3 separate regions of the Homo sapiens genome follow, and all the other regions are linked to region 1. Evidence: promoter capture Hi-C in human tissues and cell types (Jung and others, 2019). All regions are on one chromosome and are shown on one strand. Each heading gives the region's core, a stretch centred on a gene start or on the middle of the fragment in contact. The rest is flanking DNA. Distances are from core to core; before and after follow the strand shown.

Region 1 (2,868 bases), core at 237-2,736:
CATGCTCATGTACGTGTTCATGCCGTTCATCCCCAGGCCGGCGTTCATGTTGCTCACGGAGGAGTAGCCCTGCGGACAGAGCCCCGGGAGGGAGGCGACAGCGTTAGCACCGCGGCTGGAGGGTGCCCAGACCTCCCACCCACCGCCCAGGCCTCCGCGTCCGGGGAGGCCTCCGGGGAGCCCTTTCGTCCCCGATGGCCCAGTCTCCGGACTCCGAGTCTGTTTCATTCAGGGAGAGTCATGATCGATCGCCCTTGGGAAGGTGGCGAGCGGATTGCTGCTTGGGCATGTGGCCCGTTCCTAGCCCTTCTCCACCTCGCCCAGATTCTAGAACAGGGGTCCCATGGAGTACTCCCAAGCCAGCACCCCAAATACATTCCCCTACCCCAGAGTCTCCCCAAACTCTCCCACCAGCATACTGAGCTGGCGCCGAGGCCCGAAGTCCCCGGACGCCACCTCCGGTCGCAGCAAGCAACCTGCGGGACAACGCGCGGGGCGCCTCGGGCTGCCTCCAGCGAAGACTGTCCCGGGCCCCCTCTGTCCGGTCTCCCTCCAGGGACCCCCTCCCTTGTCCCAGGGAAACTGCAAGGCAGTGCCTGTGCGGAGTGCGGGGGCGGCTGGAGGCACTGAACGGGGCAATAGGGAAAGAACCGAGACCTGAACCACACGCGGCTGAGCTTTGCAGGCAAAAACTTTCTTTCTCTTTGTCCACTAGTCTTTGACTCTGCCTCCACTTCAGCCCCCAACTCCTACCCATCTTCTCCTCCTCAGCTCCCCACCCCCTCGCCGGCCGACCTCCCACCCCTCCCCAGCCGCGCGCTGCCAAACATAACTCTGTTAGGATAGTGCGTGGCTCGGCCACGAAGAGGATTTGGAGGCGCCGCAAGTCAATATTTGATCACAAAGTTAATATTATCTCAAGGCTAACAGTGTGTCGTATAAAAAAGAGACCCATTTGATTCCAAGGAGGGCGGAAAAGGCGGCTGCCCAGAAAGGCTGGGGTTGTGGGGCGGGGTGGGGGGGTGCCAGCGAGGGAAGCGGTCCTGAGGTTGGGGAAGGAGCGAGCGCCGCCGCTCCACTTCCCCCTGGAAAAGACGAGCGCTTACCTCGGGCTCTGCATAGTAGCTGCTCCAGTCGGACGGCTCGTGCCCTTCCATCTTCACCGCTCCCAGCATACTGGAAGCCGAGTGCATGGCAGTTTAAAATTTAACAGCCACAACAAACGACCAGCAATCACCCCCCACCCCCACCCTCTTTTAAAAAAAAGTCAGCCAAAGCACCGTCCCCTCCTCCCTCCCTCTCTCGCGCTCCCTCTCCCTGGGCTCCACTCCCTCTCTCTCCCTGGGCAGGCCGGAGGCGGTAGTTGGAAGTGGGCGGGAGGTGGGGGGGGGCGAGGAGCGGAGGAGGCCCAGGCCAGCGCCCCGCGGTAGGGAGCACCCGCCGCCGCCGCGCTCACGGGCTGCCGGGTGGCGGCTGAGGTTGGCAGTGCCGAGCTGCCCCGAGGCGGCGGGAAGCGCGCGGCGCGGGGGCTAGTGGGGGGGTGGGGAGGAGGAGGAGGAAGGAGGAGGAGGAGGCGGTGGTGGTGGTGGAGGAGGAGGAGGAGGAGGAGGAGGAGGAGGAGGAGGAGGAGGTGTGGACCGCGGAGCGGACAAGTGCCGCAGTGACGTGGGAGGCTGGTGATATAGCGCGGCGCGCTGGCGCGGGCCTCCAATCCCCAGACCCGGGGCAGCCCATTTGAATAATCAGCTCACACCTAGGTGAGAGGTAGCCGCAGCCGGCGCTCCGCACCTGCCCCTCAGCGCCTGCCGTCCGCCCCACCGCCGCGGCGCCCCGCACTCCTGGGCGGGCCAGGGGAGCGGGCTGGGCGGGCGATCGGGCACGCGGGATCCCTGGTCGAGCCCCCTTTCCTCCCGGGTCCACAGCGAGTCCCCTGAGGAAGGAGGGACCTGGGAGGAAACCACCCTCTGGGGCGGCTCCGGCCTCCAGCCCCCGCCCCGTCTCATCGCGCCGGGCGCCCGGTGCGCCTGTCGGAGGGCGCGTCCAGCCTCAGTGCCCGGCAGATCCCTATGAAAGCCGGATTTATTTATGCCGGGTTTCTTCGCTCTCAGTGCTCATTCTCTGTCAAAACAGCAAGTCCATGACAGCCAATTTGCAAAGCGCTGTCCTATTTAGAAAAACTACGTACACACCTTTAACTCGCCCGCTGCTGCTCCTGCGAGGCCCCTCCCTGTTACAGTTCAGACCCGGAACGGCCTCGGGAGAAGCGCGGGGCGCACGGTCTGGCCGCCTCGGCTCTCCGACTCCTCAGACACCGGCCGCCAGGGACCCGCAGTGGGGCGGCCGGCGCCTGGCGCAAGCAGCCCCTCTAGCAGCGGCCGACGGTTGGGAGGCTGAGATTTGTCTCTGATATTCAGGCCGGCGTGTTTCAAGGTTACTTTTCAGTCACAACCGAGGTGCCCACAGCATTTCGTAACTAAAACAAACAGGGCAGGAGGTGGGGAGGGAGGGGTGAGGAGAGAAGAATCCAGGAATCAATGATGGGGCATATGGAGTTGACTTCAAGAGCGTCTCTGTCCTCTCTGTCTTCCAGAGGGACTGCTTAATAGAAATTAGAAACTCCAGCAATCGTATACTTTTATTTCCCCAGCAGCTCTTGGGTTCAAAAATTGTCTTCTGTTCTGGGTTAGCCTGTGAGCCCAGATTTGGAGTGGGGGGATATTGCAGGTGTTTGGATGTGGAGGCTCTTTCTTGGTTCTGAAAACCTGGCTGGACCTTGGGGATCCAGCCCTGTACCCACCCCCTCAGACACAGAGAATGCATAGGAACTAGTGGGCATCCAGCCCACCTGTCCAAAATTGGGGGCGATGG
Region 2 (2,868 bases), core at 160-2,659, 780 kb after region 1:
GATGATCCTCTGTGTTAGCCAATTGGCTTTATCTAGAGGAAAAAGAAACTTGTATCTTTATGATATGAGATAATTTTGTAAGTTGGAGCAAAGGGCCCACTGAAGTTAGGCTCCTACTCCCCCATTAAAACTGGGAGACAGGGGCATTAACTCCCTTGATACTTAAAGAGATGGCTCCTAGGTCCTAGAAAAAGACATATCTAGGTTATAAAGCGCACAAAAAGGCCTAACTAGTCTTCAAAAGGATTTATATATTTCAAAGAGAGGAAAAAGTACTTACACTAATTACCAATTTTCTAAAAGTAAATGTTCGAAGAAAAAGGGAGGGAAATCTCATATTTTCAACAGGAAGTAGTAAACCTTATTTTAAATTTGTATTTGTCCTGACAGTCCCCAAACATTACAAACTCAACGTGTCGGTAAGACAAGGCTGAGTTAACTGCTGGCCACAGTAAGGGACAGCATGACCTGGCAAAGCTTTACCAATGGCTGGGAGCAAAAGGCAAGGTCAGTTTATTGAGAACTGGAAGTCTGACTCAAGGAAGGTGTTTCAAAGCGGGCTTTAGTTAGTATTGAGCAAGAATTGGTGGAAACAGCAAGATTTCGAGGAGTCAGCGAATCTTAGGGAATCAATTGTGCTTTCCCCGAAGAGTGGATGGGTCTCTGGGGAAGTTCTGTAGTGAACAAAGCTTTCGCCCGAATGGGAACTCCTGGAAATAAAGCCCTGCAGTAAAGACGGCAGGGTGCGGTCCCGGCTCCTGGCGCGCCGAGCCCCCCAGCAGGGCGGGGGCACCGCGGAAGAAGCGCCCCAGAGGAGAGCGCCGCGCCGAGCCCCGCCTGGCGCCAGTTCTCCAGCGCCCGTGGAGGCATCTGCGCCCCTAGTAGCCAAGGTGAGTACCAGCTCCAAGCCCGGCTTTCCGCGAGGTCCCTCGCGTGGCCACCGTGCCCTAAGGGTGCGCTCGGCCTCGGGGACGTGAGCAGCTCTTAGTGGGAAGCCAGCTGCAGGCCCTGACCGCAGGCTGCTGGGGCCCGGAAGCGCTGGCGCCTTGCGGCCAGAAGCCCGGAATGGACGCGAAAGTGACCACGCGAATCTGACGCTCACGTGACTTTTCGCGACTGGCCCCGCCCCCCTGTGGCGTGCCGCAGCGCAGACGTCGCTGTCTCCTGCGCAGGCGCAGGCCTTGGCTCGCGGCGGGTGACGCAATGCGGCGGGTGACGCAATCCGGCGTCGCCAGTCAGTCGCGCGGCCAGATCAGGTAACTGCCCGAACCGCTCCGCCGCCCGACGTGTGGCTCAGCCCCTTCCTCAGCCCCGCCAGGGGCGGGGCCGGCCGCGGGAGGGGAGGGGCCTGCAGCGACCAATCGGCGGTGCCCGCGCAGGGTGCTACGCCACGCCCAGCCGGGCCGGCCGTTCCTACCGGCCTGGTCCAGCGGACAGCGGCTGCAGCGGGGGCGCCGGCTGGGAGGTGAGTGCGCGGCCCGTAGGCCTGGCTCCGGCCCCTCGCCGCCCGCCGCCGCCTCTTTGTCCGCGCGCCCCGGCTGCTCTGTGGACCTGCGCGTCTCGGGGATGCGGGAGCGGGGGCAGGGGGCGGCCCGAGGGCCTGATCCACGCGGCCCCGGATGCCCGCGTCGGGAGGCGGCGCGTCGGGCCGAGGAGGGGCTTCTCTGTGGCTGCAGTAGTTTGTTCTCTGGGTCGTCTTTGGAGTGGCCGAGCGGCGTCCGGGCGCTGGGGCGGCCAAGTGGCGCGGGAAGGGTGGGAGGTGCCGTGAGGGCGGCGAGGACAGCGGCGGATTTAAGCCCCACTGGAAACCCCGGCCCTTGTGGCCGTGGACTGGGCTGCGGGTAGCAGCGTCTCCTGGAAGGGCTCTGGCCCCGTGAGCCTCGGGGATTCAGGGGCCGCCGACGTTGGTGCAGATGCCGGGCGCACTGGGAGGCGGCCGGAATGCCAATGAGATTCGGCGGATACGCAGCTGTCACCGGCCGCAGACTGCCCTGTCGCCACCTCCAGTGCCTGCACTCCAGTAGCCAAGCAACATAGGAAATCGCGCTCAGAACCCACTTTGTTGATTGAGAAATCAGGTCTCCTCGAGGGCCCTGTTGGCAGAGGTCTGGGGAAGTCAGGGCATCAGGCTGAGAGAGCCCTCTGCAGTCTTGTTTCCCCAGGCTGGGGCTGGGACCACTGAAACCCCAGTGGCTCTATAAGAGCCCCACTCTTATAGATCCCTTCCTTAGGCTTTGTCAGTGTTCTCACAGTTTTACTGGGGCGTCTCCTTCAGGCGACATTGATCAAGCCTCATAGGTACCTGTTTACAGCGGAACTCCCAGAGGGCAGTCTTTTCCATGTTTGAGGGACTGCTAGTTGTGGGGAGCGGTCTCATTGATGAGACTGGAGAAGGGGAGAGGGGTGGGACTAGTTTATCAGGGAAGATGATGACAACTTTTTTTCTAGACACGTTGAATCCGAGGTGACATCTGTGGTCTGGCCGAAGGAGGCTAGAAGGAAGGCATGTGCTTTGGATGGATGGAAACAGGAATCAAAGAGGAAGGTAGATTCAGGAGCTGAAGGGCAGGGAGAAAACACATTCAGGGAGTTTGTGGCAAAGCAGCAGAAATGACGATGGGGTGACGGTATCTGGAGGCCTTAGGTGGGGTTGGTGAAATTTGCATGCCCGCTGCAGTGGAAAGATTTAGGGGCTAAAGATAGCCCTTTGCCTTTGGCAAGGCTGAGGGGAAGAGTGTGTTGAGTAGTCTGAGTTGAATCCGGGCACCAGGCCCTGGCTCATGTCCCAACCAGCCATTGACTGTTACCTTGATAGGTCCTCATCTATGAAATGGGGATCACTGTAGCACCTTGGCCTATGTGTGGGAA
Region 3 (2,868 bases), core at 124-2,623, 750 kb after region 1:
TTCCTTGTTGCCACCACCCAATGATTAAGATTGGGAGAATTTCTCTATCAAAGGCAATTTGTGGAACTCAGTCTGCTTTTGCATGGCTGCACCCTATTCTCAACAGTCCAGCACACACAAGTCAAGGATATAATAAAACTTCACCAAGTGTGATGGTTGTTTTGTGTGTCAACTTGACTGGGTCACAGGGTGCCCAGATAGCTGGTTAAACGTGGTTTCTTGTGTATCTGTGAAGCTGTTTCCAGAAGAGACCAGCATTTGAATTGGTGGACTGAGTAAAGCCGATGGCTCTCCCCCCCGTGTGGATGGGCATCATTCAATCTGTTGAGAGCCAGAATAAAACAAAAAGGCAGAGGAAGGGCAAACGCTTTCTCTTCTGAAACTGGGCCATCCATCTTCTCCCATCCTCAGACATTGAAGCTCTTGGTTCTCGGGTCTCCAGTCTCAGCCAGGTCTTAGCACATTGGCTTCTGAGTTCTTGGGTGGAAGAACTGCCTGACTGCTTGAGTTGGGACATGGATCTTCTGCCCTCTGCGCTTCTAGTCCTCAGGCTTTCAGACTGGACTGGAATCCACACCATTGGCTCTCCAGTTCTTGGGCCTTTGAACTACAGCACTAGGCTTCCTGAATCCCCAGCTTGCAGATGGCAAATTGTAGGACTTCTTGACCCCCATAATCATGTGAGCCAATGGCTTATAATAAATCTCCTTTTTCTAGATATATATCTGGAAATATATTTATTCATATAATTCTTACATTTATAATTTATATTCATATAATTTGTCACATTATTATTATATATTATATATAACAGCACACATTGAAGATATATAGATTTATATCTCCACTATCCTACTGATTCTGTTTCCCTGGAGAACCCTGACTACTGTACCAAGTGTAGTAGCATTCTGGGTAACCCACCATATCCCAGGATGATCACCCACATACATGCTACAACTGCCCCTTTCCTGGCCTTATTTTTTTCTCTCTTTTCTTCCTTTCTTCCTTATCGAATATTTATGACATAGGATTACTTATACTCAGAGATAGGGCCAAGCTTGTCTCCCACAAAGATGAAAGAGTTGTATAAACTCACCTCAAAGATGCTCCAGAAAGGAAATCAAAACAGTTTCAGAACTTGAATAGGAATCAGGAAAGAATCAGTGTTAAAGTATATTTCTCAAAATACAAATCACCTAGGGTGGGAGTGGGGGCTTGTGGAAGTTCACATTCCCAGGTCCTGCTCAGATGGACTGAATCAAAACACTAGAGATGGGTCTTGAGTTCAACATTTTGAGCAAACTTGCATTATTTGTTTGCTTGTGGTTGCACACAAGTTTGAGAACCAATGCCATAGATATTCAGGAACAAGGACATATGCAGGAGCTGCATTTTAGGAAGCTAAGTCCAGCAGTTTATGTAATATGCACTAAGGGGAGGGGGTGCTGGACACCTGGAGAAGATCAAAGAAGGATGGAGGCACTTGCAGTAATCCAAGTGTAAAGGCAGAGCCTCGAGTCAGGTCTTGTAGAAGCAGAGCCAGAGAGAGGGGTGTGGGTGCCCATGACTGGAGGGAGGACTCAGGAGGAAGAGACGGAGGGAAGCAGAACAAGTCAGGGAAGGAGTGAGATGGCCTCATATCCGCTGCAGTCACACCTCAGCCTGGCCCCGCTGGGGGCTCTGGAGCAGGGGCTGCACTGTGGCATTGATCCACCTTGACTCACAGGCACCATGTTTGTAATGTGGCTATTTCCAGCCAGCACACACAACAGCTGGGGGTGTGACCACTCAGTAAAATGAATTGGGCAGGGCACCTGCAGAGTTATAATACATCAACCCTGGAACAATACACACCCCTTCGAATTTACTGACAGGCCAATTTTCAAGCCAAAAATACAGTCCTCAAAAGGGTGTCAGTGGCTGGCCAAGGGAGGTATTAGTGGTGTTAGAAGGAGAAAAGGAATCAATCCCTAGAGAAGATGCTACTTCTTCAGGGTCTGATGATTTCATTTGCAAGGATTTTTATTGGTGTTTTTTCTAAGCAAAGTTTACTGGAAAATACTAAAAGAGACCCATGGCAGGGACTGGAAAGGGAAGAGGAAGAAGTGACTAAGCTGATGTTTTACGCATGACTGACTGGGACGATAACAGTATCAGAACAGAAAGGACCACATTCAAGTCTTCTTTTCTGTTTCTCAGATGTTCACTAGAGCCATATCTGACCAACCAAGTTCCTTCAGGAGGGACTCAATCCTGAGATCGTCAATTCATCTTTCTCTCACAATAGCTTCATTAAAAACCCCACAATTCAATGCTGACAAATCCCCATTACTTCTCATTATAAATCTTAAAACCATAAGAATTAGCGTCTTCCTTACTACATAAACTTCCAGACCTCAAATCTCACCTTTTTTGGGTAAGGGTAAGCTATTTGTTGACATTTGCACAAACTTTTGCCTGGCAGAAAATTTTTAAATAATTTCTAAAGAATCATTCAAATAAAATGCCAGACCCAGGAAGAAAGAACAATTTCACTCACCAACAACAATAATGTCTCCCTCAGCCATCTATCCACACACGTCCAGGCACATCCCTTTTTGGTTTGGAACTGGTCAGGTGTGCACTGTGAAGGCATGACAAGTTGCTTCAGGAAAAGAACGATCAGGTGCACAGGCTGAGGCAGGCAGACAGGCTCTTATCTCTATCCCCAGTAGATCCATCACAGGGCATAAGAACAGCATAGCTCTTTGAGTAACTGGTTTCTGTGTAAGCAATATATGACATTTCACAGACATTAGGCTCCCTCTGGGAATTCTTCTTCTGCATGGCTCCTTTACAAAACGAGATCCTCTTCAAGACTGGTTGGTG

What was found. Contacts are between HindIII fragments. The study calls those that stand out against the background at their distance.
Region 2: a contact is called between the fragment with the promoter of GZF1 here and the fragment with the promoter of FOXA2 in region 1, in 1 of the 25 tissues and cell types used here (liver).
Region 3: a fragment that was not itself captured here is called in contact with the fragment with the promoter of FOXA2 in region 1 in 1 of the 25 tissues and cell types used here (lymphoblastoid cells).

The regions. Positions count from the first base shown.
Region 1 is chr20:22,583,086-22,585,953 of GRCh38, forward strand. It overlaps FOXA2 (forkhead box A2), which reads right to left and starts at 1,487. Exons shown (of 2, transcript NM_021784.5): 1 at 1,107-1,487; 2 at 1-69. The coding sequence starts at 1,193. RefSeq lists enhancers at 1-92, 1,517-2,272. The HindIII fragment of the contact is 10,630 bases long and covers 1-2,868 here.
Region 2 is chr20:23,360,773-23,363,640 of GRCh38, forward strand. GZF1 (GDNF inducible zinc finger protein 1) reads left to right here and starts at 1,410. Exons shown (of 6, transcript NM_022482.5): 1 at 1,410-1,465. RefSeq lists silencers at 696-785, 1,206-1,695 and an enhancer at 876-1,135. The HindIII fragment of the contact is 9,373 bases long and covers 1-2,868 here.
Region 3 is chr20:23,330,028-23,332,895 of GRCh38, forward strand. The region is part of intron 1 of NXT1-AS1 (NXT1 antisense RNA 1); the gene reads right to left. It overlaps LOC105372571 (a long non-coding RNA gene), which reads right to left. Exons shown (of 3, transcript XR_937379.3): 1 at 2,540-2,868. Among named protein-coding and RNA genes, the nearest start is that of NXT1, 19 kb to the right of the region's middle. The HindIII fragment of the contact is 6,519 bases long and covers 1-2,868 here.